Linked DNA regions of Homo sapiens: region 1 is linked to region 2. Evidence: promoter capture Hi-C in human tissues and cell types (Jung and others, 2019). All regions are on one chromosome and are shown on one strand. The core of a region is centred on a gene start or on the middle of the fragment in contact, and the rest is flanking DNA. Distances in the headings are between cores, read along the strand shown.

Region 1 (6,022 bases), core at 1,463-3,962, 110 kb before region 2:
AAATCTATAAGAACCTAAATACACTGAAAAGAAAAAAGAAATTTCCAAACCAATGGCAGTGCATATTATATTCTTGGATAGAAAGACTTAACATCATAAAAATGCCAATTCTCTCTATACTTAAAAAACTTTTTAAGATGATCACAATAAATTGTGATAAGATTTTTTAAAAAGATAATTCTAAAGTTGAAATGAAAAAATAATAGACATGAGTAGTTAGGATAGTTAGGAACATTCTGAAAAGAGAGCAATAGGGATTAGGCCTTAATCATTATTAAACATTTTACAAAGCAATAATAAACAGTATATTACTTGTAAATAAATAAAATATAATAAAAGTATAGAAATAAAACTTTGAATGTAAATGGATTTGGACCTCCAATCAAAAGACATAGAGTGACTCAATGGATTAAAAAACAGGTTCCCCCTGCCCCCTGCAAAAAAAAAAAAAAAAAAAAACAAACTCACAAGCCCCAACTATAGGCTCAAGCGATCCTCCTGCCTCAGCCTTTCAAGTGGCTAGGACTACAAATGTGTGCCACCACATGGGCCAATTTTTGTACTTTTGGTAGAGACAGGGTTTCATCATGTTGCCCAGACTAGTCTCAAACTCCTAAGCTCAAGCAATCCTCCTACCTTGGCCTCCCAAAGTGCTGGGATTACAGGCATGAGCCACCATGCCAGGCCTCACTTCACCTTGAAGGATGTTTATTAACTGCAATTGAAAGGATCAAAAAATATATACTATATAAATGGAAACAAAACAAAACAAAACAAAGTAGCTATACTTAGATAAAACAGACTTTAAATCAAAAAATGTAAACAGAAACAAAGAAGGTCATTATATAATAACACAGAGATTAATTTACCAAGAAGGTATAACAATTATAAATATATGTTCATCCAACATCACAGTACCTAAATACATAAAGCAGATGTTAATAGATCTGAAAAGAGGAATAGATTACAACACAATAATAGTAAGGGACTTCAACACCCCACTTTCAACAATGAATAGATCATCCAAAAAGTCAATAAGGAAACATTGGACTTGAACTACACTTTAGACCAAATGGACCTAACAAACATATACAGAGCATTTAATCAAACAGCAAGAGAAGATACGTTCTCATAGCGTAGGAATTATTTTTTAGAACAGATCACATGACACATGAAACAAGTCTAACAAATTTAAGAAGACTTAAATTATATCAACTATCTTTTCTGACCATCAACAGATGAATTGATAAAATATGGTATATGTACACAATAAAATACTATTCAGCCATTGAAATGAAGGAAATCCTGAATAGCTATCCAAAGAGCCTATCTCCTTTGATGCTCACAATCCACTTAAAATTAAAGCGGTATTTAAAAATCATTCTATATACCCAGACATTAGTCTGGGCAATGATTTTTTTTCATATGACCTCAAAAACATGAGAAACAAAAGCAAAAATAGGCAAGTGAGATTACATCAAACTAAAAAGCTTCTGTACAGCAAAGGAGACAATAACAGAGTGAAGAAATAACCAACAGAATAGAAGACAATATATGAAAGCCATACATCTGAAAAGAAGCAAATATGCAAGAAACTCAATAACAAAACAAAAATGGAATTTGTGTTTTAAAAATGGACAAAAGACCTAAATAGACATTTCTTAAAAGAAGACATACAGGCTGGGCGCCGTGGCTCATACCTGTAATCCCAGCACTTTGGGAGGCCAAGGTGGGCAGATCACTTGAGGTCGGGAGTTCGAGACTAGCCTGACCAACATGGAGAAACCCCATCTCTACTAAAAATACAAAATTAGCCAGGCATAGTGGTGCATGCCTTTAATCCCAGCTACTCGGGAGTCTGAGGCAGGACAATCACTTGAACCTGGGAGGCGGAGGTTGTGGTGAGCCGAGATCGCACCATTGCACTCCAGCCTGGGCAACAAGAGCGAAACTCCATCTCAAAAAAAAAAGACATACAAAGGGCCAACAGGTAGATGAAAACAATACTTAACATCACTAATCATCAGGGAAATGCAAATTAATACCACAATGAAATACCACCTCACTCCTTTTAGAAAGGCTATTATCAAAAAGATGAATAATAGCAAGTGTTGGCAAGAATGTGGAGAAAAGAGAACCCTTTTACACTGTTGGTGGGAATGTAAATTAGTACAGCCATTATGGAAAGCATAATGTATAGAGATTACTCAAAAAAATTAAAAATAGAACTACCATATGATCCAGCAATTCCCTGCTGGGCATGTATCAAAAAGATAAAATCGGTATGTCTAAGAGATATCTGCACTCCCATGTTCACTGTCATTTGCAACAACATAGAAGAACCTGGAGAACATTATGGTGAGTGAAACAAGCCAGATACAGAAAGACAAATGTCACGTAATCTCACATGTGTAATCTAAAAAAGTCAAACTCATAGAAACAAAGGAAAATGGTGGTTACTAAAGTCTGGGGGTGAGGATGGGGAGTTCTTGCTCAAAGGACACACATTTCAGTTAAGTGAAATAAATTGAAGAGATCTGTTGTACATTGTGGGAATAATAGTTAATAACAATATATTTTATACATGAAAATTGCTGACAGTAAATTTTAAATATTCTCACCACAAAAAATAAGTATGTGAGATGATGAATATGTTAAATAGCTTGATTTAGCCACTGTACAACATATCCATATATCAAAACAGCATACTGTACACCATAAATATATACAACTTTTACTTGTCAAATAAATAAATAGATTATTGATAGGTAGTTGACAAACTCCATAGATAGATAGATACTACAGGAATTTTTTAATACAGGAAGTGGTATTTTAAATCAGGAATAGGGGAGACAGATTATGTAATAATTAGTGTCAGAAGTTGATAGTCATCTGGGAAAAACAAATAAATTTGTATCCATATCTCACATTTATGCAAAAATAAATTAGAAAGATATAATTATGAAAATTAAATCATTAAGGTGCTAGAAGATACCACTGCAAAATTTTATTTCTTTAAATGCTTGGAATAGGGGAGAGCCAAGATTATAGTGAGGCAAGAAAGATACCTGGGGTACAAAAATAAAGCCTCTAATTTTAGTCCTGTAGATGCTCCCCTGGCCTCATGCTAGTGCTGTCTGCTAGGCTTGAGCATAGCCAAACAAAGAAAAGGAGAAGATAAAAGAAAAAGTCTAAAAAGAAATTACTAATATTTTCAATTACACGGAATTTTCTGGATAACCAAAAACTTACAAAGGAAAAATATTCTTTTAAATGGAAAACTGCAGCACATATTAGAAGGGTGACTTTCTCTAATATACAACGTACTCCTATATATTAACAAGAAAAAGGTCAACAAGTCAACAGAAAAAAATGAGCAAAGAATATGGAAGTTCACAGAACAGAAAAATAAGTAACTCAAACATATAAGATTGACTATTTTTTATAAGAAAGACAAACCACATTCGTTTCCCTCTTTTCACCTGTTGGATAAAAAAAATTTAAACTAATAACCAGCTTTAGTGAGAATAGCAAAAACAATTACTGCTCACACTACCAGAGAGAATATGAATTGGTACAGCTTCTATGGAGAGTATATATCAGAATTATAAATGCACACACTCTGACTCAGAAATTCTACTTCTGGAAATGTATTCACAAACATACCCACCTATGTGCAAAATCATTTTTTAAAACAACAGCATGGTCTCTCATTTCAGGAACCTGGCATCTTCAGGGACAGTTACCTGCTTTTTAAAGGAGGTGAATTATAGTTTAATGTACTACAGGTCCTATACTATGGATGGGAACTATTACAGTTTATAATGTCAAAAACTTTTCTTAGACCAAAGATATCTTCCACAAAGGTAACAGACTGGATTGACCCATCATTCAATGATTTTCTAGAGTATAGAGACATCTCTACTATTACTGCCACATCATTAGGTGTGAATAACTCAAGTCATAGAGAAAAAAATGAGCCTTCTACATTAGAAAGTAAGATATTTCCAGCTAGAAAAATAGGAAATCTGTCTTCCTTAGAACAGATATATGGTTTAGAAAATTCAAAAGACTATCTGTCTGAAAATGAACCATGGGTAGATAAATATAAACCAGAAAGTTAGCATGAACTTGGCTGTGCATGAAAAGATAATTGAAGAAGTTGAAACCTGGTAAAAAGCTCAAGTCTTAGAAAGGCAACCAAAACAGGATGGATCTATTTTATTAATAACAGGTCCTCCTGGATGTGGAAAGACAACGACCAAAAAAACGCTATCAAAGGAGAATGGTATTCAAGTACAAGAGTGGATTAATCCAGTTTTACCAGATTTCCAAAAAGATGATTTCAAGGAAATGTTTCATACTGAATCAAGCTTCCATATGTTTCCCTATCAGTCTCAGATAGCAGTTTGCAAAGAGTTTCTACTAAGAGCAACAAAGTATAACAAGTTACAAATGCTTGGAGATCATCTGAGAACTGATAAGAAGATAATTCTGGTTGAAGATTTACCTAACCAGTTTATAGGGATTCTCATACTTTACATGAAGTTCTAAGGAAGTATGTGAAGATTGGTCGATATCCTTTTATATTTATAATCTGTGACAGTCTCAGTGGTAAAAATAATCAAAGTTTCTTGTTCCCCAAAGAAATTCGGGAAGAGCATTCTACCTCAAATATTAGTTTCAACCCTGTGGCACCAACAATTACGATGAAATTTCTTAATCGAATAGTGACTATAGAGGCTAACAAGAATGGAGGAAAAATTACTGTCCCTGACAAAACTTCTCTAGAGGTGCTCTGTCAAGGATGTTCTGGTGATATGAGAAGTGCAATAAACAGCCTCCAGATTTCTTCTTCAAAAGGAGAAAACAACTTATGGCCAAGGAAAAAAAGAATGTCTTTAAAATCAAATGCTACGCTGTCAAAATCAAAACAAAGAAAAAAAACTGATAGGGTTTTTGAAAGTCAAGAGGTCCAAGCTACTGGTGGCAAAGACGTTTCTCTGTTTCTCTTCCGAGCTTTGGGGAAAATTTTATACAGTAAAAGAGCATCTTTAACAGAATCAGACTCATCTTGGTTGCCCTCTCATTTATCAGAATATGAACAGGATACATACTTGTTGAACCTGAGGAGGTAGTAGAAATGTCACACATGCCAGGAGACTTATTTAATTTATATCTTCACCAAAACTACATAGACTTCTTCATGGAAATTGATGATATTGTGAGAGCCAGTGAATTTCTAAGTTTTGCAGGTATCCTCAGTGGTGACTGGAATACACGCTCTTTACTCAGGAAATATAGGACATCTATAGCTACAAGAGGTGTGATACATTCCAACAAAGCCGGAGGATATGCTCATTGCCAAGGAGAAGGATCAAGTTTTTGACCCTCGCACACACCGCAGTGGTTTCTAATACATAAAAAGTATGGGGAAAATTGCCTGGCAGCAAAAGCACTTTTTCCTGACTTCTGCCTACCAGCTTTATGCCTCCAAACTCAGCTACTGCCATACCTTGCTCTAATAACCATTCCAATGAGAAATCAAGCTCAGATTTCTCTTATCCAAGATATTGGAAGGCTCCCTCTGAAGCAACACTTCGGAAGACTGAAAATGGAAGCCCTGACTGACAGGGAACATGGAATGATCGACCCTGACAGTGGAGATGAAGCCCAGCTTAACGGAGGACATTCTGCAGAGGAATCTCTGGGTGAACCCGCACAGGACACAGAGCTGGAAACCTGGTCTCTTCCTCTGAGTCAGAATAGTGCCAGTGAACTGCCTGCCAGCCAGCCTCAGCTCTTTTCAGCCCAAGGAGACGTGGAAGAAAATATAATAATAGAAGACTATGAGAGTGATGGGACATAGAAGCCAGCCTGCTAATCAGATTGCTACTTCACAGATTCATTTTTGTTTCATTCAGTGGTACTTCAGCAGAGTTAATATACTTCTCTGATGAATTACACAACAGTTTGTTAATTCTCCGTTCCTGTAGTCTTTCATCACGAAAAACTAACTCTT
Region 2 (5,923 bases), core at 2,260-4,759:
ATATCCTAAATGGTATCAAAAAGACCCACACACTATTTCTACATTTCCTTGATTCAATCACACCTCCTTTATTCCCCCAACTTCTCTAACCCACAAATATCTGCCACAGTCCTAAATTTTATGGTACCTAAAGTCAGTATATTCCTTATACGCCATTTAATTTTCCCATTCCATGTCTCTCATCTAGATCCTGTCTTCACAATGCATTTGCCTTTATAGGTATTTATTATTTCCCACAGTTCTCAAAAGAGTGCACACAGTAGACAAAAGTTTATTGACTGAATACAATTCCTGAAAACATATGTATAAAAGGTAGTAAATAAAAAAGAGCCTTCATAAAAGCACATTGATTTTTACGCCCTGTTTGGTTTGCTGCTGTATTTCCAAACTGAGAACAGAGCCTGGCACACAGTAGGCACTCAATAATTGTTGAATGAAGAAACTGAAAGTTTCTTTAAATGCAGGAAGCTCTGAGGCAAGTCATTCTCTTAGAATACTGTGAAGGTGAATTCAGGAATGTAGCTTCCCCCTTTTCTTCTATATTTACAAACTGTTAACACATACTACACTAATTTAAGCTTGTCCAGTACTGGCGATCCTATTAACTAAAATAATCAAGCCATAAACAACAAGAAAAATCAACTGTTAACATTTTGCCTAGTGATCAAATTTCCTTGTTTGGGACTTCCAACTTGTTTTTAGTGACATGCTTTCTGAGCTGATCATGAATGTGGCACGAATCTCAGGCTCATCAGCAAGCCACCAGAGCATGTGGACAGTTCAGCTGATACAGTCCTAAGTTCCTCAGTAAAATGCTTCAACACAGCAATGATGATGTTTCAGGCATCTGCCGTTCCCATATGCAATCCTGGTTTAACCAACACTTTTAGAAATGACCTCAAATGTAATCCTGTAGCGTTGAGCACATTTTAGAGGCAGTGACCAGGGTGGGATTAGAACCTACAAAGAATGTTTCTATTCATGACTTATAGAGAAATGTCTCCCAAGTCTTCATGCTCAATCCCATCCCCAACTGCCTCACATTTTTTTCATCTTAAAATGTTGAGAAAGAGATCAGGGGAGAAATAGAAGCTAAATAATGGCCATGGCACATTTTCAGCATCTATCTAAGACTTGATCCAACTTTTACCTGTCACTTGCCTCCACTTTAAACTGCTGCAGTTATTTAAGCCTATTTACAATGTAAAAGAAGCAAGCAGCCACTAATTCATTTTAAGAAATGTCCCTTTGTCTAAAAAGTCTATGATTTAAAAGGGCTAGCCATTTTTATTGTCCCGTGAATTTCCAATTCATTAAGTTTTACTGCATAGCTATTAAAATCAATAGAACACACACTTTGAAGGTCAATAATTTAGAATAGATATTAAATAGTCTTAATATGTCCCTTTAGAATCACCTTTCTTTCGCCTCACTTTCCTGATATACTCTAAATACAACTAAAAATGATGTCTAGAAAGCAAGGAACTTCATTTTAAAATAACTTGCCTTTTTAAAAAAGATTATACATTGATATAGACCCTTCAGTGAAGTAAGTATGCAAAGTAGACATTCCACTCTGTGTAAGCAGGCACTGTAAGACTAAGTGTCTGGCAAACAGATGACTAAATCATTGGCAGAAAAAAAACAGAACTCAGGTCACAAAATAAGGAATTTAAAGTTCCAAGCAGGCCACTCACACTGATTTAAAAAAAAAAAAAAAAACCCTAGAGAACTGGTCAGCATTTACTTAATAAACAGCCAGGGTGATAAGCATACCTCAGGGTGATACAGATGAATTTTGATCTGAAACTTGACATGTATCTCCAAGGAACTGTATCACCAGGTGTTCTAAAATTTTTTTCCCAAGTCTACTATTAATGACCATGTTGACCAGATTCTTACTAACTAGCCATAAAAGCGTACTCAATGCCTGTTTCTGTCTTGCCTTCAAAGCTTGCAGTCATGTTCACATACAAAGGAACAGTAAAGGTAAAATGACCCAACCTCCTTCTCCTGTTGGTGACCACAAGGCAGCCTCTCTATTCCAAGGAGGTAATCTAAGCTTGCACAGATGGCCTAGCTCTCTGCTAATGCAGGGGTGCTGGGTTTGTTTTCAGGGTGGGTGCTGCAAAGCGCCAGGTATATTTATAGAAGGGAGCAAGACTACTATGGAGGGATGATGACAGAAGAGGAAGTTTCTTCCGCCCGGTAGAGACAGCCTGTGGAAAGATCTGGATTCCACAGCCTAGGTTCCACTCCTGACTCGTCAACTACCAGCTATGTAAACTTACTAAAACCTTTTTGGTCTGTTACCTTATGTATAAAATGCAGATAATGCCCCATTCCCTCAGAAGGTTGTCAGAATGATGAACGAGCATTGTGTATGTAAAACCTGGGACGTGATAGGCATTCAATAAATGTCGATCTGTCCTGCCCATCCTCCTGTTCACCCAGAATTGCGCCTCAAAAAATCACAAAGAGAGCCTGCAGCGTTAAAACTAAGAGGCCCAAGCTGGTTGGCAGGGAAAGAAACGACTTGGGTGGGGGCTCGCTTATTTCCTGGAGGACTTGGTTTAAAATGGAGTTAGGATATTGATCATGGACAAGACACACAGAAAAAGCACCAAGTACTAGCAAAACTGACAACAACAAAAACAAAAAGACATCCCTTTACTGTGAGCACGAAACAAACTTCGGAAGCAGCGGACATCCTGTGAACCTACTCAGTGGCCTCAATTAAAATCCCGAGGGTACCAAGAGCTAACCCAGAGGCACACCAGCCATATGCCGCCTCGTCAGTTTCAGGCCACGCCATTCCGCAAAACTGTCCGCAAGCCCTGACGGCTCTCGCGCCTCCACGCCTGGCCCAGATGCGTCTGGATGTCAGGAGCGAGCGGCAGAAGGGTACGGGGTGGGAAAGCGGAGAGGTCCGGTTGAATGTTTGAAAAACAAGGCGGTGGGTGAGGGGGCGGGGTGGAGCAATGTGGCAGAGACGCGGCCAGCGAGCCTGAGAGACCGCGGCTTCACAATGAACGAAAGGAAGAGACTGCGACAAGCGCCGGCGCCCGGTCCCCGGCGGGGACGGATGGTGAGGCCGGGGGCGCGCAGACGTGGGAAGCCGGGAAGGGGGCGCGGGATGCAACGAGTGAGTCGCTGACCAGGCAGGGAAGCCAAAGAGCTCCCAAGCAGGTGCAAAGCCCCCAAGCGAGCAGGAACGGACTGGGGATACTCACGGTGTAAAGCAGGTTGAGGGCGCACAGGCAGTTCTTGGAACACGCGAAGCCCCCGCAAACCATCTTGGAACCTGTGGTTGCCGGCAGCTGCACGTAAATTCGACTCCGGCGGAGGTTCCCTGACAGCTGCTTTGTCCTTGCCTTTGGGGCCTGGCCCAGGCGGGGCAGCAACGCAGACGTGGGTGGGGGGCCGGGGCCTGGGGCTGCAGTGCGCGGCGCGCGCGCGGCGGCGGCTCGGACCCGCTTTGGAACCTGCGGCCGCCGCAGCTGAGCCGGAGCAGGAGCCCGAGCCCCGCCCAGCCCCTTCGTCTCGCCCCGCGCGCTGATTGGCCGCTGGCAGGGAACAAAGGTAGAAATATGCAAATAAATGCGCTCCGCCGACCGGGATCCGGGAGGGGCGGAGCGGTCCCGGGGCGAGGGGGAGAGGGCCAAGGCCGTGTGGGAGGGAGCCCCAGGCCAGAGCGGCGGCCTTGGTGTAGTTTCCCCAGGAGCAGGTGAGGAGGGAGGGCGGGGCTCGGAGGAGATCCACGCTGGCAAGGAGAAATATGACAGCACCTCTGGATTCTTGGCCCTGGCAGATGACGTGGCACCATTTTGAATGAGATTTCAAAACTAAGCACCTGGCCTTGTTTGAGGGAAGGAAGGCAGGAAGCAAGTAATGAATGAAAACATGTGAAAGATTTAAAAGAGAACGAAGTAGAGGCAAATGAAAGGGAGAAAATAAGTGAAACAATAAAAAATAAAATAAAATCCCTGCTTCTCTCAGAAAATAAGATATGTGCCCTATAATTGTGACCTGGACAGGTCAGACTTATCCTACAAAGATTTGCAAAATACTAATAAACTTTATGAATACATGCATGCAAAGGAAAATCAAGAGCGGGAGAAGGTGGGGATGGTTAATAGGTCCAAAAAAATAGAAAGAATGAATAAGACCTACTATTTGATAGCACAATAAAGTGACAATCGTTAATAAGAACTTAATTGTGTATTTTAAAATAACTTAAAGAATGTAATTGGATTGTTTGTAACTCAAAGGATAAATGTTTCAGAGGATGGATACCCTATTCTCCGTGATGTGCTTATTTCACATTGCATGCCTGTATCAAAACATCTCATGTACCCCGTAAATATATACATCTGCTACGTGTCAACAAAAGTTTTTTAAAAAATTTTAAAAAGAAAATCAAGAGAGATTATTTTTGTGTTCTGGTCGTGAATTTCAATAAACTTATTTTTTCACAAAAATAACTGAAAATCTTCAAATAACTCAGACTTCACCTCAATTAATTCATTATCAGTTTACTGCTTCTCTACTATAGAAATGCATCTTGTATCCTTAATTCCTCACCTATAAATTGAGATTTTAGAAGTATGTCAAGCACTTTTTGCATAGTGGCTGGCACAGGGGAAGGCCTCAATAAATGTCAGCTAGTATTCATAGATCTGACATTTTGTAAAGGCCTACTGTGTTCCAGGCACTAAGCGAAGGCAATAAAGGTTTATTTACTTCATAGTAGTTTCTACCAAAGAAAAAGGTTTTATAAAGAGATTTGCAAGTTTACAATACTATATCTAACCTAAAGGTTCATACGGAGTAAATTATGTAATTGCAAATGCTAAATTGTATTAAATTAAATTAAACATTGCAGCTGATTAAAATAATTCGTCTTCTTAGAATTCTCTGCTCCCTCTTCCAGCCTCTCCTTCCCTCCCCTGACCCCACCATACCAACAAGACCTCATTAATTTGTTAGGCTTTCTATTCCACATTAACCTTTTATATACAGCTAGAAATATTTCAAAAACTAACCTGGAAAATGATCCTCAAACACAAACAATGCTTTGATGATGCTCAACTTTCCTTTTTAATAGCCAGAGGTTTACAAAAGATGAGGCATTGGCAGGGAAATCTATTCATTCTCTTCCCATTCCTGGGTGTCACCAACATTAGTACCACTTCAACTATCACTCAACCAACTATTGCAACTCTCTCTTTGGCTTCTGCATAATATCTTCACTATCTCCCTATAGGCTGAATCACTTTGTTTTCCCAGAGAAGTACCACCTATCAGTCAGGGTCCCAGCAAAAAGGAGATGACTCGTTCAAATAGCATAACTGAGAAGAATTTCAAAAAGGGACTATTTTCAAAAGTGTGGACAAAGTTAAAGGAAACCGGCTGGGTGCGGTGGCTCACACCTGTAATCCCAGCACTTTGGGAGGCCGAGGGTAGTGGATCACCTGAGGTCAGGAGTTTGAGACCAGACTGACCAACATGGTGAAACCCCGTCTCTACTAAAACTACAAAAATTAGCCAGGCGTGGTAGCGGGCACCTGTAATCCCAGCTACTTGGGAGGCTGAGGCAGGAGAATCACTTGAACCCAGGAGGTGGAGGTTGCAGTGAGCCAAGATCGCGCCACTGCTCTCCAGCCTGGGTGACAGAGTGAAATTCTGTCTCAAAAAGAAAAGGAAACCAACAAAGCATGATGAGGCAGCTCAGAGATAGTAAGAGCAGGAAGTTCTAATTACCCCTAAGACTAAGGGGGTGATTTAAGGGAACAGTTACAGAAGCCAGGCAAGAGCTATAGTTGTAGGAGAGTTGTCTGATAGGAGATACGGCTTTTGATAGAGGAAACAAAACAATGTCTGAAAATAGGAAAACAAATGGACATGTTGCAATTTCTCCTGA

Evidence for each region. The method cuts DNA at HindIII sites, captures the fragments that hold promoters and counts their contacts. A contact is called where the count stands out against the background at its distance.
Region 1: a fragment that was not itself captured here is called in contact with the fragment with the promoter of TSPAN13 in region 2 in 4 of the 25 tissues and cell types used here (H1 embryonic stem cells, IMR-90 fibroblasts, aorta and 1 more).

What each region holds. Positions count from the first base shown.
Region 1 is chr7:16,864,111-16,870,132 of GRCh38, reverse strand. All of the region lies in intron 3 of AGR3 (anterior gradient 3, protein disulphide isomerase family member), which reads left to right. It also overlaps the pseudogene RAD17P1. Among named protein-coding and RNA genes, the nearest start is that of AGR3, 15 kb to the left of the region's middle. The HindIII fragment of the contact is 5,002 bases long and covers 212-5,213 here.
Region 2 is chr7:16,751,341-16,757,263 of GRCh38, reverse strand. TSPAN13 (tetraspanin 13) reads right to left here and starts at 3,509. Exons shown (of 6, transcript NM_014399.4): 1 at 3,234-3,509. The coding sequence starts at 3,296. RefSeq lists a silencer at 626-920. The HindIII fragment of the contact is 15,712 bases long and covers 1,267-5,923 here.